Regions from separate parts of the Homo sapiens genome. Here regions 2, 3 and 4 are each linked to region 1. Evidence: promoter capture Hi-C in 16 types of primary human blood cells and fetal thymus (Javierre and others, 2016). All regions are on one chromosome and are shown on one strand. Each heading gives the region's core, a stretch centred on a gene start or on the middle of the fragment in contact. The rest is flanking DNA. Distances are from core to core; before and after follow the strand shown.

Region 1 (4,251 bases), core at 532-3,031:
TCGGCTCACTGCAAATCTCCACCTCCCAGGTTCAAGCAATTCTCCTGTCTCAGGCTCCTGAGTAGCTGGGATTACAGGCACCAGCCACCACGCCCGGCTAATTTTTGTATTTTTAGTAGAGACAGGGTTTGATCACATTGGCCAGGCTGGACAGGAACTCCTGACCTCAGGTGATCCGCCCGCCTCGGCCTCCCCAAGTGCTGGGATTACAGGCGTGAGCCACTGCACCCGGCCTCTATGTGGAAATTAAAGGGTACAAAGAGAAATTACAATTCGTCAGAGGGTATCTATTTGACCATTCGTAGCTACTCTGGAAAATTTTAAACCATTTTTCAAAATGATAACTCCTCTCATGATGAAGGTAGGTTCACCCCCCTGCACTTTCGTAATCTTCCACTTGAAAAACTGAGTAGTTAACACTGATGTCCGTCATCCCACCATGCCAGGGCTCCTAAATGGTCAGTGTTTTTGTTTTTTTCAAATAATTCACTCCAAGCTCAAATTACGTCTACTTCGGGCTTGCCAATTGTTGACATGTTTTCTCAGGGGTTTAGCCTTGCTAACAAAAAATAAAAGCTTCTGAGGAACTGATTCCACAGGTCTAAAGGTAGTATCATTGCTCTTTGGTATGAATTGGTACATTATGCTTGGACAACTAGGAATTCCCTCTCATTAACTTGGCTGATCAGTTTGGCTGCTGATCAATCTAGGAGATGGCATAGTAAGTGCTCTGGGAACCTGCTCATTAAGAAGCCCTAAAACTCCGCGACATGAGTATCTTCATTCATGAATTCTGCAAAAGGAGGCAGTGGGAGGAATTCCTTAACTTGGGGTGAGGTTACTAGTCAGTTCCAGACTATGCCATCTCCAGAACGGCAGGAACGGCTCACTAGCGAGACAGGAAGGAATGTTGGGTCCTAACGCATGCTTAAAATGTCTATTTCTCATCTTTAACAGTTCAGTATCAGGCGCACTGGGCACAATAGCCCACCACAGGTACTGTTAACCCATGGCCTGATCTGGCTCAGGTCAGAAGAACAGGACATGTTTCCCCCTCCTACTCTACTCTCAATGATAATTAGCTCGGTCCGGCTCTAAGTTCCTTCCAGATCCTCGCCGGCGCCTTCCCTGCCCACACGCGCCTTCCTCTGCGAGCGGCAGGACCCAGGAGCTGGAGCCCGCGTGCCAGGGACAGACGCCCGAGATGATTAGGTTGGGGGCGCGGCAGCCCAGCGCCCTGGAGTGCACCAAGACCCCCGACTCCTCACCCCCGAGCTGGGGCGAGAGCGGCTTCCCCAGGGGCTAGGGCCTCGAGGCCACGCCCACAGTCGGGGCCCAGGGGAGCAAACCAGCAGTCGCCGGCCACGGGAAGCTCTCCCGGGCGGCGGAGCTAGAGCAAGGACTCATGCTCCAGACCCCAGGAGCTGCCAGCCTCGCTTCCTGCTCCTTTCGCTGTATAGTGACAGTTCTCGGCCGGACTCTACCGAGCCCTCCGGGAAGCCCAACCTGGCCCCTAGAGTGGCCCCGGGCCCGGGACCCCCGGCGCCGCCCGACCCGGTGCGAGCCTCGCCCCCCGAAGCTCCTGACCTCTGAGTCTTTGCGCTGGTTGCGGTTGAACTCGCGGGCTTTGCCCCCAGGCAGGAGGCCCGCGGCGGCCCGCGGTGCCCCGGGTGGTGGCTGTGCGGCTGCCGGCGGCGGAGGTGGCGGGGGCTGGGGCTGTTTGTTGTTCACGATCAGTGGGCCCGGACCGCCGACTGCCGGCTCCATCTTGGCTGCTCCACACCCCCAGCTTAACTCGCGCACAGCCGCCGTGATGCAACTCTCGCGTGATTTTCTCCAGGAAATTTCCCTGGCCGCCATATTAAGTGTGGCGGCCAGTGTTAGAAGCCATCTTGGCTGACCAATACCTCGCGATATTCTGTCTGCAGTCCTTCCCTTGTTGATCTTTTTAGTTTTCCACCTTCCTTTCAGTTTCAGTTTAGATGTAATTTTATCTGTGAGGCTTCCCTTAGCTTCTTCAGTCAGTTTAGTTACCCCTCCTTCCTCTAAATCGCTTTGCACTTATAACTCATAGCCTTGTTCAAGGCTTAGGCGGAATTTTGTAATGAACAAAATGGATAGGATCCTAGTCTTCACAGAGTTACCGTTGTGACAAGTGCTTGTCATTCATTCATTCAACAAACATTTAATAAATGTCTCCTGTGCACCAAGCAGTGGGATAAAATGAGGAACAAGTGTCTGCAGTCACGGTACATAACAGTGCTTGGTGGGTCAGACAAACAATAGACAAATATAGAGAAATAAATGCTGAAAAGTGTTAAAGGAAAATTTGTTCATGGCACTAATTAAAGATGGTAAGGCAGACTTTATGTAAGAGAGCCCATGGTGATAGTTACAGGGACCACTACAACCAGATCTTGCAGTGAAGAAGAGGAATTAGACTCAACTCTGACTCCAACAAGATATAGTGGGGATTTATAACCAAAGAGCAGGATGAGGGTCAGTGGACGGAAAACTACTAAGAGAAACATCAAGGATAAGAAGTTTCTTGCTAAACTGACCTAACAGGATTATTGCTGAAAGCAGGACAGGGTGCTAAGATGTTGAGGGTGGTCAGATACCGAGTGCTATGGTTTGACTGTGTCCCCCAAATTCCATACGTTGGAAACTCAATCCTAAAGTTCATATGTTGATGGTATTTGGAGGTGGAGCCTTGAGGGGGTGATTAGGATTAGATAAAATCGTCAGGGTAGGGCCCCTGTGATGGGACTGGTGGCTTTATAAGAAGAGGAAGAGTGATCTGAGCTGGCACACATGCTCTTGCTTTCTCACCGTGAGAGGCTCTCTACCATGCAGTTTAAGAAAGCCCTCACCAAATGCAACCCCTCGACTTTGGGCTCCCCAGACTCCAGAACTGCAAAAAATAACTTTCTTTCCTTTATGAATTACCCAGTGTTTTGTATTCTGTTATAGCAACAAAAAATGGATTAAGACGCCAAGAGTGGAGAGTCCCTGCACAAACTGGATTCAACAAGGACAGAAAGGAAGCCCAAACGGTTAGTCCTAGTAGGCAGAGGACTCACAGGAGCCTGACTAGAGTTTTGGCCAAAGAAGAGAATCTTTGTCAGAAGTAACAAAAATTGAGAGGTTAAAAGGTGGCAGTGGGGCGGGGGGCAGGGGTTGGTGGAGGCGGAGAATGTGGCTATAATATAAGCATGCTGCCCAAGGAAGGCAGGCCTGAGGGTGTGATTTTAGATGAGTTCTGAAAGAAGTGAGGAGAAGCCCTGCAAAGTTCCAGGAAGGGCACACAGACAGATGAAACAGCTAAATGCAAAAGCCCTGATGTTAGTGTCTGGAATTGAGTGAGCCAAGGGAGGGATAGTAATTGATAGAGCCATATAATGATAATGCAGGGACCAGAAGAATGCAGGGCCTTGAAGGTAGTGGGAAGGAGTTTGAATTTTATTCTAAGTGAAATGGAAAACCATTCGAGGGTGTTAACCAGGGAGATGTTATGGTGTGATGTTTACAAGTTCAATCTGGCTGCTTTTGGAGAAGGGATTGGAGAGTTGCAAGAGTGGATAAGGCAAGACATGTTAGGGGACCATGTAGATGGAGATGATGGTGCTTGTACCAGAGTGGAGCATTGGGTTGATATTTCTATATTGTGTAGGTAGGGGGACAGGATTTGCTGGAATCTTATCAGCTGGGTAGGGGAAATAAACAATGACCCCCTTGATCTAGGTTTGGGCAACTGAGTGGATGGCTGTATCACTTTCATAAATAAGTAAGCTCGAGAGTAAGAAAAACAGGTTTAGAGGAAAGATCAAGACTTCAGTTTTGGACACATCAAGTTTGAGATACTCATCAGACATCTTAGAAGTGTTGCGTAATAATAACTCTTACTATTATCTGTTGTTATACTGTGAAATCCTTAAAGGCATTTTATCCATCTTTGTCTCTCCAGCTTTACATATTGCCTGCTTTACACCCCAGGCTCAAGTCCAGAAAGTCCCTGTGATACAACTCTCCAGTGATTTCCCCTGAGGTCCAACCTAGTAGGTGCTTAAAAAGTCTTTGTTGTAAATTAATAAATTAATCCAAAACCACCACACTGCTATTTCCTCCTACCTATCTTCCTGTGCCTATCATAAGCTGTATCACCCGGGGAAAAACATTTTTCAGCTAAATTTAGAACAGGGAGGGTTTTGGTTCCATAATTCCACTTCTAGTAATAGATTCTAAGGAAAT
Region 2 (4,251 bases), core at 479-2,978, 480 kb after region 1:
GAAATCAGCAGAGTACAGACAACCCAGAGTGGGAGAAAATCTTCACAATCTATACATCTGACAAAGGACTAATATCCAGAATCTACAAGGAAATCAAATCAGCACGAAAAAAACAATCCCATCAAAAAGTGGGCTAAGGACTTGAATAGACAATTCTCACAAGATATACAAATGGCCAGCAAACTTACGAAAACATGCTCAACATCACTAATTATCAGGAACTACAAATCAAAACTACAATGTGATACCACCTTACTCCTGCAATAATGGCCATAATAAAAAAAAAATAGATGTTGGTGTGGATGTGATGAAAAGGGAACACCTTCACGCTGTTGGTGGGAATGTAAACTAGTACAACCACTATGGGAAACAGTGTGTAGGTTCCTTAAAGAACTAAAAGTATATCTACCATTTGATGCACCAATCTCACTCCTGAGTATCTACCCTGAGGAAAGAAGCCATTATACAAAAAAGATACTTGCATACGCATGTTTATAGCAGCACAATTCACAATGGCAAAAATATGGAACCAGCCCAAATGCCCATCAATCAACGAGTGGATAAAGAAAATGTGATATACACACACACACACACACACACCCCTCTACACCCATGGAACACTACTCAGCCATAAAAAGGAATGAAATAATGGCATCTGCAGCAACCTGGATGGAACTGGAGACGATTACTCTAAGTGAAGTAACTCAGGAATGGAAAACCAAACATCGTACGTTCTCACTTGTAAGTGGATGCTAAGCTATGAGGATGCAAAGGCCTAAGAATGATACAACGGACTTTGGGGACTCGGGGGAAAGGGTGGGAAGGTGGTGAGGGATAAAGGACTATACATTGGGTACAGTGTAGACTGCTCAGGTGATGGGTGCACCAAAATCTCAGAAATTGCCACTAAACTTATTCACGTAACCAAACATAACCTGTTCCCCAAAAACCTATTGAAATGTTAAAAAAGTGACTAATGCATTTAAATAAAAGACACAAAGAATGATACATGCTTATAAAACACAAAGCTTTTTTTCCCCGAAACACAGATGCATCCTCACATGAAATGTAACTGGCCATGAACCTTATCCCAAGCAAATGGCAAACATAATAAAGGGTATAATCCCATAGGAGGATATAATGTAATGGCATGTTTACCAAAGGGCAGTCTTATTCTCAATAATAAGCATATTCAGCCAATAATATGCAGCAATTTAAATATAATTAACTGTATAATATAGAGTTTAAGTAAATTAGATGATTCCAGTTCTCTGCATGCAACTGGCTTTTTGCCATACTACCACCAGCAAATCCCAAAGAACAAAGTTTTTTTTTATGTTTTCTCAGAACCTGCTAAAGGAAACTATCAAGAAACAGAAATACAGAGAGCAGATAATTCAATAATTTACAAAACTAAGTATCTTCATTAGTACAGTGATGAGTAAAAAAAAAGGACTAACATTTAATTCCTTTCACCACAAAAGGATATTAAAATTCTTTGAAGATCTTTGAAAATAGTATATTAATATGAAAAATAATAAAACAGCTGTCTGAAAAACCTCTGAAAAAAGTAGCTAAAATGGTAATTCTCACGATCATCATCATCAATAGAAGTGACCACTTACTATTTTTTATTTGCTAGGCACTAATGTGAAGCATTTTACATGCATTATCTCATTTCATATTATGAAACATCATCTCTGCTTTACATATGTAAAAATTATTATTCTTATGGTTAAGTTACTTGCTCTGGGTCTCAGAGCTAATAAGTGGAGGTAGAACTTAAATTCAGTTTTGTGTGAATCCAAAAGCAGTGCTCTTATCCATTATACCAGTGCTTCCCAACCTTTGTCACATGATGGCACACATTAAAAATATTTGTAAGGCTCATTGGGGTGAGCTGAAAGAGCTTGGTGAAAAAAAATTTTCTTGCTTGCCCTGGGGTCAAAAAAAAACAAAAACAAAACCCGCACACACAAAATTTCTTATTATGAAATTATGGCATGAAAAAAATACAAAGTATTACAAATGATATTAAATATTAAATTGGTATAAATTTAGTATTTATACCAAATAAAATTTTTTCAAATTACCAAATTCATGGTAGGGTAGGCACAGTGGCTCACACTGGTAATCCCAGCACTTTGGGAGGCTGAGATGGGAGAATCACATGAGGCCAAGCATTTGAGACCAGCCTGGGCAACATAATGAGACCCCCATCTCTAATTGTTTAAATAGTAAATAACCAAATTACCAAATTCATGAATTATACAAGAGGAAATCATACCAAAGATGTTCAAATGTAATTTCAACTGTTGTAAAAGTTTGAACTTATAAAAATGATTTAAAATTTCAATGCTATAAAAAATTTGTAAACAGCACACCTATATGCCATCCTAAGCACTGGAACATTGGTTGGGAAGCTTTGCATGGTATTTTTTCAATAGAATGTCATAATTAAACACTAATTTGATATACCAAGATCTTCCCAAGAACACTTTATTTTTTTTTTTTTTGAGACAAAGAGTCTCACTTTGTCACCCAGGCTAGAGTGCAGTGGCGTCATCTCTGCTCACTGCAACCTCCACCTCCCGGGTTCAAGCGATTCTCCTGCCTCAGCCTCCCAAGTAGCTGGGACTACAGGTGCACACCACCACGCCCGGCTAATTTTTGTACTTTTAGTAGAGATGGGGTTTCGCCATGTTGGCCAGGCTGGTCTCGAACTCCTGACCTCAGGTGATCCACCAGCCTCGGCCTCCCAAAGTGATGGGATTACAGCCAGGAGCCACCACGCCCAGCCCTTTCCAAGAACATCTAAATGAAATTCAAACCAAAGGTTATCAAAGGAAGAATTACAATACTGAAGTGTCTGTAAATAATCTGGCCCACACTAGCTGCTTAATTTGGTATAATTTCCATAATACCTACAATCTGTAACATTCATTTTGACTTAATAAGAATAGCTAATCTTCATGGAGCTAGTACTATGTGCCAAGCTGTGTTCTGCTTTACATTATTACCATATTTAATCCTCACAGCAATCCTAGGAGTAGCTCTATTTTCTCCATTTTAAAGATAAGAAAACTGAGGCCAAGAGAAATTAACTTTCCCAAGGCTATAACTAGTAAATGGGAATTAGGATTTAAAGCAGTCTGACTTCAGGACCCATGCTATTAATCACCATGTTAAACTACACCCCCATAAGAAAGAAAATATATCATGTGTCAGGAGACACAGGGTAAGTAGATAGATCTCAACTTAAACTAAGTTCCATAGTGATAAAGTAAAAATGACTTGCATCTACAGCAAAGGAGACATTATCCAGGAAAAAGAAAACTGTATACTGTTTTGGGTACATTTTGCTTATAGAAATAGCATAGAAGATAATTTTAATTTCCTATGTGTGTTATGATATGGCTCAAGCAAGAACATATGTTTCTGCAACCTATTTGAATTTGTGGATTTAACTTGCTCAAGAATATTTTAAAAATCTTACTTAAAAAAGAATGAAGTTGGTAAAAATTAAAAGCAAATATGTTTAGTACTTTGATTTTTACTTACTGCTTTTCAAGTTCCCTAAGTCAAGTGTCTAATTTTGTTTTTAATTAAATGCACTACAGATAAAATCCTGAACAAAAATTCTTCTAGACATCTGGACAAGTTCCGCCTATCCAAATTCTGCCTGCCTAATCCTGCATTTTGGAAGAAAGTCTCAAAGTTTCCAACTACATTACAATAAACTGATGTCCTAAGGGTATCTCTGTTGGTCAGTGTAAATCAAATCACTCACAGAAGATGAGAATACATCTTTACTTTCATAACCAATCGATCAATAAAGAAAATGCTGGCCAGGCACGGTGGCCTCACGCCTATAATCCCAGCACTTTGGGAGGCCAAGGCGGGTGGATCACAAGGTCAGGAGATTGAGACCATCCTGGCTAACACGGTGAAACCCCGTCTCTACTAAAAATACAAAAAATTAGCCAGGCGTGGTGGCGGGCGCCTGTAGTCCCAGCTACTTGGGAGGCTGAGGCAGGAGAATGGCGTGAACCCGAGAGGTGGAGGTTGCAGTGAGACGAGATCGCGCCACTGCACTCCAGCCTAGGCAACAGAGGGAGACTCCGTCTCAAAAAAAAAAAAAAGTTAACGCCCTGAATGTTATAGTTTATATCAAATTTCTCAAAGGCCCCAAGGACCAGTGTTCAACATTTGCTGGCTCAGGCTGGTTAACAGTAAATATTTAAGGAGCAC
Region 3 (4,251 bases), core at 771-3,270, 450 kb after region 1:
AGGAGTTCAAGACCAGCCTGGGCAACATAAAGAAACCCGTCTTTACAAAATATTTTAAAAATTAGCTAAGCATGGTGGTGCATGCCTGTAGTCCTAGCTAATCCTCCTACCCTTGAGTGAAGCAGGAGGATCACTTGAACCCAAGAGGTCAAGGCTGCAGAGTGCCACTGTACACCAGCCTGAGTGACAGAGTGAGACCCCCGTCTCTTAAAAAAAGAAAGAAATAATAAGAAAAAATATGAATCCAACATAGGACAATTAAAGTATAGAGTCTATATATATTAACAAAAGTAGGTTTTTTTGTTTTGTTTTGTTTTGTTTTGTTTTTTTGAGACAGAGTCTTACTCTGTCACCCAGGCTGCAGTGCAGTGGTGCGAACTCGGCTCACTGCAACTTCCGCCTCCTGGGTTCAAATGATTCTCCTGCCTCAGCCTCCTGAACAGCTGGGATTACAGGTGCCCGCCACTACGCCCAGCTAATTTTTTGTATTTTTAGTAGAGATGGGGTTTCACCATGTTGGCCAGGCTGGTCTCAAACTCCTGACCTCAGGTGATTCGTCTGTCTCGGCCTCCCAAAGTGCTGGGATTACAGGCGTGAGCAACCGCGCCCGGACACAAAAGTAGGTTTAATTCTACAGAATTAAATTGTGAAGGCCAATTTAAAAAATTAAAACAATAGGAACAGGAAATGTTCTTATTAAAGAAAAATTCCTGAAATGTAATACTAAATCAACTGTGTACTGTATAATATCAAAACCAAACTATACCAAAAGTCCTCAGACAATTAAACTCAATAGGTCATGCGTGTTTAACCATTTGACAGGACATTAGAGAATGGTGTTTGATTAACTAAAATTGAGAGAACTATAGTGAGTAAGAATATTTTCCGTTTTCTTTCAGTAAACAGAAGAGCTGGGGAGGTCTGGGGTTTTTTTTTTTAATCTAAATCAAAAACAAATTGTAAATACCTCCAAAAAAATTAATTTGTTCAGGGAAATAATTAAAAGACTGCTTCAAAACTGTATTCTTTGCTGATTCCAGGCTAGAAAACTGATGAGCAGATGGCACCAATGTAAGTGAATCATTAATGATCTATAAAACCAAATACTATCACTAATGTAAAGAGGCAAGCTTAGATCAACAGTTATGAAAATCTCTATAAGCACATGTAGTTAGAGGATTCAGAGCTTTCTGAATGAAAGATGAAAAAAAGCAATTATAATCTACCTTTGATGACCACTGGTAGAATTATTTAAGCTATCAATACTTGCAACTAAGATGTTATTAAAAGGTAGGCAAGAATCCTGAAACGTTTCTAAAGCCAAGTTCTCATTGAAAGAATAAGCAAGTTTTCAAATACAGTCATGTGCTGCATAACAATGTTTTGGTCAACAACAGACTGTATAAATGTATGCTAGTGATCCTGTAAGATTATAATGGAGCTGAAACACTCCTAGCCCCAGTGACATCATAGCCATTGCATTACCCTTTTATATGTTTAGAGATGCTGAGATACACAAATACTTACCATTATGTTACAATTGCCTACAGTATTTAGTACAATAACATGCTGTACAGGTTCATAGCCTAGGAGCAACAGGCTATACCATATAGCTTAGGTGTGTAGTAGGCTATACCATCTAATTCTGTGTACGCATACTCTACAATGTTCACACAATGACAAATCACCTAATGATGCATTTTTCAGAAAGTATCCCTGTCCTTATGCACAGCCTGACTATATCATTTAATTTCTTCTTGTAACAATTTAAGCTAGAATCATGACGTGAAAAGTAGGAAAACAGTAATATTGGAGAAAAAACTTTAATGCTTAAACGTGCCCTCATCCAGTACAGAGAGAAATACAGATAACAAGTGCTCACCAGGCCCCGCAAAAGTACATTAAAAAAAAATACATTCCGGACCAGGCACGGTGGCTCACGCCTGTAATCCCAGCACTTTGGGAGGCAGAGGTGGGTGGATCACGAGGTCAGGAGATCGAGACCATCCTGGCTAACACGTTGAAACCCCGTCTCTACTAAAAATACAAATTAGCCGGGCATGGTGGCGGGCGCCTGTAGTCCCAGTTACTTGGGAGGCTGAGGCAGGAGAATGGTGTGAACCTGGGAGGTGGAGCTTGCAGTGAGCGGAGATGGAGCCACTGCACTCCAGTCTGGGCGACAGAGCGAGACTCCGTCTCAAAACAAAAAAAATACATTCTGAATCTAGGTTTCATAAATAAGTATATGTAAAAGAGGTAAAATAGGATAACATGTAATAGCTTAATATAAGTATTCATTACAAATTCTCTAAAACTATATTAACACTCAAGATAATATCCTTGACAAAAAGATACTTCAACTTCATTCCATGACTCAACCTTCTCTTTCTATACAAAGTCTACTACTGTGATCTGGCAAAAGGGTTACTAGTGAAGTCCATAGTGCGGCCCAGACACAGAGAGCTGGCTGCATAAAAAGGAATACCACTATTCTAATTTCCCTCTCTAGCTGGCTATCAGTGCCAAGCCCTTACACAGAGGGAACTTATGAGTTGGAACAGATTCAGAACCCAGCCACAACAGATGTCTCTCCTCCTTCACTTGCTTATAATAAAATGCCATGGAACTAATTTTGTGGTGCCAAGTCTCCCATTTACATTCCAAGAGGGAACTTTTTTCTCCAAATCATACAAATGACCAAGGGCTCTATAATCCTAAACTTAGACAATTTTTATAAAGTATCCTATAAACGTCTAAGAGTGTCTATTACTTAAACATTTCCTTAAGTGGGGACTAAAATTTCTGTAGTGTCACCAAGTTATTCTCTGTTATAGTTTCACAGAGAAAAATTACTTACTATGAAGCAGAATCATTGAGCTGATATTCCCTGGATCTGCTGAAGCAAGCTTGTACCCCACCATCTCGCCATAACCGTTTAATCACTCCTGCTAGTTCTGGAGTCATGACTCCTTCTTCAGCACTGCCAGCTAAAACAAATAATTGCCGGGCATCATCCTGAAGAAAGCAGTTAAGAAAGAGACAGATGACTCTCCATTTCTTTAAGACTTGATGACAGTCTCTTTAAAATATAGACACATTACATGTTATGTTAAAAGAGGTGTTGTTACAGAGACCTTTTCTGACAGGCCAGCATGACAGAATTTATAATTAAGTCTTTCCTTATTCTCATTTCACTACAGTTTTAAGTCCAGAACTGAGCTGAGGAATGATTTTACTTCCCCACCACTCCTCCACACACCACCATCCCCAGAAAAGATCATTTCTGGCCAGCCCACAAATCTCCATCCAGATTGCTAATAATTTTTGAGAGAAAAAAACTGGTTTATGAGACAGGATTATGTAAAACATTCCCGTTCTATTAAAGGAAGCCTACACTAAAAATAGAAATAAAAAGACTAGCACATAAGAGGTAAAGTCTAAACACCTCAAAGGGAGTAAAACATTAATCAAGTTTAAGAAAAAAGTATTCTCTTCTTTGCCTTCAGCCCAGACAGTAGAACAAGAAGAGGAGATGGAGGCACTTAAGGTCTAGAAGCCTAATGGGGGAAATAAATCCCTCAGGGAAAGATTCAAACAGTCCCTAGATTTCCCTAAAGGAATAAGGAATAATAATAATGTTCTGAGAGAGGGAAAGGAAGGGAGCAGGAGGAAAAGAAAGTAACCATAACTTCATGAGTCATAGCCATGGTTTTCTTTATTTCTTTTCTTTTTTTTTTTTTTTTTTTTTGAGACGGAGTTTCGCTCTTGTCACTCAGGCTGGAGTGCAATGATGTGATCTCGGCTCCTTGTAACCTCCGCCTCCTGGGTTCTAGCGATTCTCCTGCCTCAGCCTCCCAAGTAGCTGGGATTACAGGCATCTGCCACCATGCCCAGCTAATTTTTCTATTTTTAGTAGAGAGGGGTTTCGCCATGTTGGCCAGGCTGGTCTCGAACACCTGACCTCAGGTGATCCACTCGCCTCAGCCTCCCAAAGTGCTGGGATTACAGGCGTGAGCCACTGGGCCCAGACATAGCCATAGTTTTCTAGGTGGTTATAGTTTTTAAACATAAAATATGTGAGGGAGAGGACAGAAATGGATTATGAGATTTTTATTGTTTTCCTTTATTCTATCCATCCCTACTTGTTGGTTTAAAATTAAACACAGGTCTCACGGGATGATTTTCCCATCCACATCTAATATTTATCTACCTTGAGAGATTCCAAATAACTATAAAAATAAAAAATTTAAA
Region 4 (4,251 bases), core at 998-3,497, 260 kb after region 1:
TAATCCAGCTGTTCTTTGTCCCTGTGTGTCCTGACCTCCAGCCTCTACAAAGGCCATCCCTCTTGCCAGCAATGCCCTTGCCTTTCCACTCTGCTTCAAGACTCAGTCCACCTCCTTGCTGACTGTGCAGCCCCGGCATCCTCACCTTTGTCCCCTGGCACTCATTGCCTAGAGCTCAATCTTGCCACCTGTGGCTTGTGCCCACCCTAGTCTCATCTGAAACTAAGCCAAAGGATGGCATCACATTGGAATGTGCACAAGCTCAGAGTTTCAGCACAGGCCCCAGAACACAGATGGTGCATAATCAGTGCTGGGCGGGAAAGGCGATCGCATTCCAGCACTCATGTTTCCATGCCATCCACCAGCCTTTGGGTAGTCTTCTTGCAGAGGCTGGCAGCGTCCCTTGGGAAGGGAAAAGGATGGTCTCTGTGTGGGTCTCTGACCAGCCTCCAGGCCCCTTGCCTTCCCACTACTGGTGTCCAGGAGTCACTAGTCTGCCAGGGAGAGGCAGGAAAGAGCGGAGAGTCCCCCTAATGTGCAGCCAGGTAGGAGAGAAATTTGTGACCAAGGGATGCTGACCCCTCCTCCAGGAGGTTTCCAGGCCACTGTCTCCATTCCCAGCCACTTCTGCCCTCCTAACTTCTGTTTCCTTTCTACCTTCTTCATTCATTTGTTTACTTGTTCACTGACTCAGCAATCACCTATTAGGTGCCAGGCACTGGCCTGACTGTGGGTATCCCACAAAAAAGACATAAAACCTGCTCAAAGTAACATCACTTAGTGGAAGAGAAAATTAAGGTATTCACCAATGTCTTACATTAAGGTTTTGGACAGAGATATAAGAAGAGGTGTGCTATCTCAGATCACAACCGCCAAACCAGCTGAGGGGTGAGGGGAGTCCAGGGAGCCTTCTAGAGGCAGAGATGTTTGAGGTGAGATGGCAGGGAAGATGAGGCTTTGGCCAAGCAAAGAAAGCAGGGAGGCCGACGCAGCAGCAAGGTGTGGAGAGGCAAAGTGCTGCAGGTGCCTTCAGGGAGCTTTGGGTTGTCTTTGTGTCTGGGTTTGCAGCAGAAGGGTGAGACCTGGTAACCAGCAGAGGCAGAGCTCAAATGCCATGTGCAAAGTCAAGGTGTATGATTTTCTTTTAAAGCATGGGAGCAACTGAAGGATTTATAAGCCAGGGAGTGACATGTGCAGATTGGAATTTTAGAAAACTCTGTTGGGCAGAGCTGGAGAGAGCTCAGAAGGGAGTATCCCCTGGAAAGGAGATGGCAGGAAAGGCTCGGGAGGGTGTGGGGGAATAAGGGGTAAAGGATTGTGGGGGGGGGGGTCTGAATTAAAGCAATAATAACAGAGAAGTAAAACTGTCAGCAGATTCTGGAGATTTAAGGAAGAAAAATAGAGGACTCAATGGCTGCATGTGGGAAGTGGATAGTGGGACCAAAGACTGAGATGGGGACACAGGGGAAGCGCGGTATTGTGGAGACAGCAACACCAGTCTGCAGCATGATGCACTTGAAATGTCTCAGGGACATTGGCCAAAGGTGGGCAAGAGATGGTCACGTGGCTGGATTCAAGATGCAGAGACAGGGTGCTGGAGGCATCAAACACAGGCATCTTCGGCTCCCAGACTGTAGCTGAAGCACTCGCTCAGGGGCAGTAGGCAAGGGAGAGAAGGGAGGTCAAGTGAAAGGTCCCATTCTTTTTAGGAGCTCCATGGCTATTCACTGAGGGTACAGAGACAAGAACAGATGAGAGGCAATGCAGTTAGTGAAAAGGCATTCACGTCAGAGGACATGGGCTCATGACAGCTCTTCTAGATACCTGACCATTTCTTTAAATCTCCAAGCCTCAGTTTCCCCATTCATGAAATGGACCTAATAATACCTACGTTGTAGTATTATTGAAAAGAGGCCGGGAACAGTGACTCATGCCTGTCATGCCAGCAGTTTGGGAGGCCAAGGCAGGAGGATCGTTTGAGGCCAGGAGTTCAAGACTAGCCTAGGCAACATAGCAAGATCCTGTCTCTACAAAAAAGTTTAAAATTAGCTGGGTGTGGTGGTACACCCTTCTAGTCCTAACTACTCAGGAAGCTGAGGTGGAAGGATCACTTGAGCCGTGATCACGTCACTGCACTCCAGCCTGGGTGACAGAGCAAGACGCCATCTCAAAAAAGAAAAGAAAAATAATAACCATAAAGCACATCACATAGCTCCTAGCAGAGAGCTAGTACCATGAACAGCAAGCACGGAGAAGCTACAAGTTTCCAGAATCTTCCAAGTCTGCCAGTGTCCCCACTGGAAGTCCCTTTGGACCTCTCTACCCATCAGTCATATTACCAGCTGGATGAGCAAATGCAGCCTGGACCTAGATGTCTGTGCAGCTCCCTTTCGCTTCCCCGAGTGGCACCGGCTGGGAGACCCCAGCTCTGTGGGCTCTGTCCTTCCCAGGCATGGTGTGGGTGGGTGGATGCCACAGCCCAGCCCTCCTGACGCCCCACCCTCCTGACCTCCTGCCTTGCCCTCAGGACCTTCCCTGGAACTGCAGCTTGCTGGGGGAAGGAAGTGCACAGCTGGAGCCCCTGCCCCTGCCCTGTGCCTGCATCCTGGCGGTGTCCTTCCCAACACTCCACCCAGTAGTCCCAGAGGGATGAGGTGGGCTGGAATGGAAAGTGAGGTTCAGAAGTCAGGGAGCCCATTAGAACCAAACTGCCCAGCTCCTCTCTGCAGCACATGGTTGGGGGGCAGGAGAGAGTGCCCCAATCTGGGACCCACACAGGCAAACTTCAAAGAGGTCATCCAGTGAGGCGGCCACCCTTGGCCTCAGTTTCCTCATCTGTAAAACACCATGTTGGGCCAGGTCATCTCTGAGGTCCCTCCCACCCAGAGTGCAGTTCTACGTTGTCCTCTCCCGTCCTGACTGCGACTCACTATTTCCAGCAGAGGGAGCCGGCACCTCTCCGCAGACAGCCAGGAACCAGTGCCACTCGTCTGGCCAAGGATCTGGAAGCCTTAATAAATGTCTATGTGCTAGGCACGTGGCATGCTTAATGCAATGCCTGGCCAGGGCGTGCGTTCCATAAATAGAGGCCATGGTTGTCTCCATTTCATAGATGAGGAAACTGAGGTTCCAAGAGTTTAATTTGAACCCAGGGGCTCTGGCTCTGATGGTCTCTGGGCAGCTCCAGGAGGGCGTGATACCATCTCTAAATATCTGAAGGGCTTGCCGTCAGAGAGGGGCACATTGCAGGGACGCTCCAGGAATGCAGGTCTGAGCTTGGCCTAAGGAAGAATGTTCTAATGGTCAGAGCTGGCCAGTTGAGACAGGGCCTGCCTTGGCTGGCTGTGAGCACCCTGTCTGAGGGATGGCCTCAGGGAGTCGGGAATTGAGGGATGGTGGGTCTCTCTCGGCCCCGTCCAGTCCAGAGGGCCACATTCTGAGAGGACTGAAGGGCCAGACACAGTGGATGCCTGCCTTGAATCACAGAGGTCACCGTCCTCCCCATGGTCTCCCAGCTGCCCTGGGGCTGGAGAGTCCCGGCATTTTCTCTGAGGGCCTCTGGATCTCAGATCACTGGTGGAGGGGCGGTCCCCTACCCACTGTTCCACAGCTGCCTACATCCACTGGGGACAGTTCTGGAATTCTGGGTAGGCCTCTCAGGGCAAGATCTTTGGTGGCCTATGTTCTTCGCAGGGCGGGACCCCTTCAGCCTGATGGGAAGGTCTGCAGAGCCACAGGCCAAGCTCACCAGCTCCTTCTGGGAGCCCTTTGGTCTGTCTGCATAGGTGTCTATATGGACAAATATTCCTGGCACAGAATCCACTGAGGGGCAGAGTTGGGGAGGCCAGGGCTCCTGGCTCCAGCTGCTGCCCACTTTCAGGGAGAGCACTGTAGAGCAAGAGTCTCTGGAGTGGCACTGCCTGGCTGTGGCACAGCACACCCCCGGGGCACCCAGGAGGCTGGGTGGGGAGAGCAGGGGCAGCTGGAGGGATGACTTCTCAGGTTCAAGCTGGTCGGGTGGCAGCCTGGCACTGGTCACTTCTGGGTGACACTTAAGACAGGACATTGCCAACTGGAAGCGGGTAGAGCACGGGCTCCCATTAGAACCACTGGGAGATTATAAATATTTAGATTCTGGGGCTCCTTCCTGGAACTCCTAAATCAGACTCTCCATGGATAGAGTCTAGAACTTTACATTCTTAACCAGGCTTCCCAGGCAGTCCCATGGAGCCAGGCATTTGAGAAACTACT

Evidence for each region. The method cuts DNA at HindIII sites, captures the fragments that hold promoters and counts their contacts. A CHiCAGO score of 5 or more calls a contact.
Region 2: a contact is called between a fragment that was not itself captured here and the fragment with the promoter of STRIP1 in region 1, in 4 of 17 cell types (non-activated CD4 T cells, fetal thymus, activated CD4 T cells and 1 more). The highest score is 6.4, in non-activated CD4 T cells.
Region 3: a fragment that was not itself captured here is called in contact with the fragment with the promoter of STRIP1 in region 1 in 1 of 17 cell types (M2 macrophages); the score reaches 5.4 in M2 macrophages.
Region 4: a contact is called between a fragment that was not itself captured here and the fragment with the promoter of STRIP1 in region 1, in 2 of 17 cell types (total B cells and M0 macrophages). The highest score is 6.4, in total B cells.

The regions. Positions count from the first base shown.
Region 1 is chr1:110,032,154-110,036,404 of GRCh38, reverse strand. STRIP1 (striatin interacting protein 1) reads right to left here and starts at 1,781. Exons shown (of 21, transcript NM_033088.4): 1 at 1,588-1,781. The coding sequence starts at 1,767. LOC105378895 (a long non-coding RNA gene) reads left to right here and starts at 966. Exons shown (of 3, transcript XR_947693.3): 1 at 966-996; 2 at 2,974-3,056; 3 at 3,968-4,109. RefSeq lists silencers at 1,187-1,256, 1,497-1,716 and an enhancer at 1,717-2,106. The HindIII fragment of the contact is 6,759 bases long and covers 579-4,251 here.
Region 2 is chr1:109,550,429-109,554,679 of GRCh38, reverse strand. All of the region lies in intron 1 of GNAI3 (G protein subunit alpha i3), which reads right to left. Among named protein-coding and RNA genes, the nearest start is that of GNAI3, 3.9 kb to the right of the region's middle. The HindIII fragment of the contact is 1,395 bases long and covers 1,031-2,425 here.
Region 3 is chr1:109,577,968-109,582,218 of GRCh38, reverse strand. GNAI3 (G protein subunit alpha i3) reads right to left here. Exons shown (of 9, transcript NM_006496.4): 4 at 2,858-3,015. Among named protein-coding and RNA genes, the nearest start is that of MIR197, 19 kb to the left of the region's middle. The HindIII fragment of the contact is 1,776 bases long and covers 1,133-2,908 here.
Region 4 is chr1:109,772,548-109,776,798 of GRCh38, reverse strand. LOC124904258 (a long non-coding RNA gene) reads right to left here. Exons shown (of 2, transcript XR_007066303.1): 2 at 1,371-1,727. Among named protein-coding and RNA genes, the nearest start is that of EPS8L3, 11 kb to the right of the region's middle. The HindIII fragment of the contact is 6,340 bases long and covers 1-4,251 here.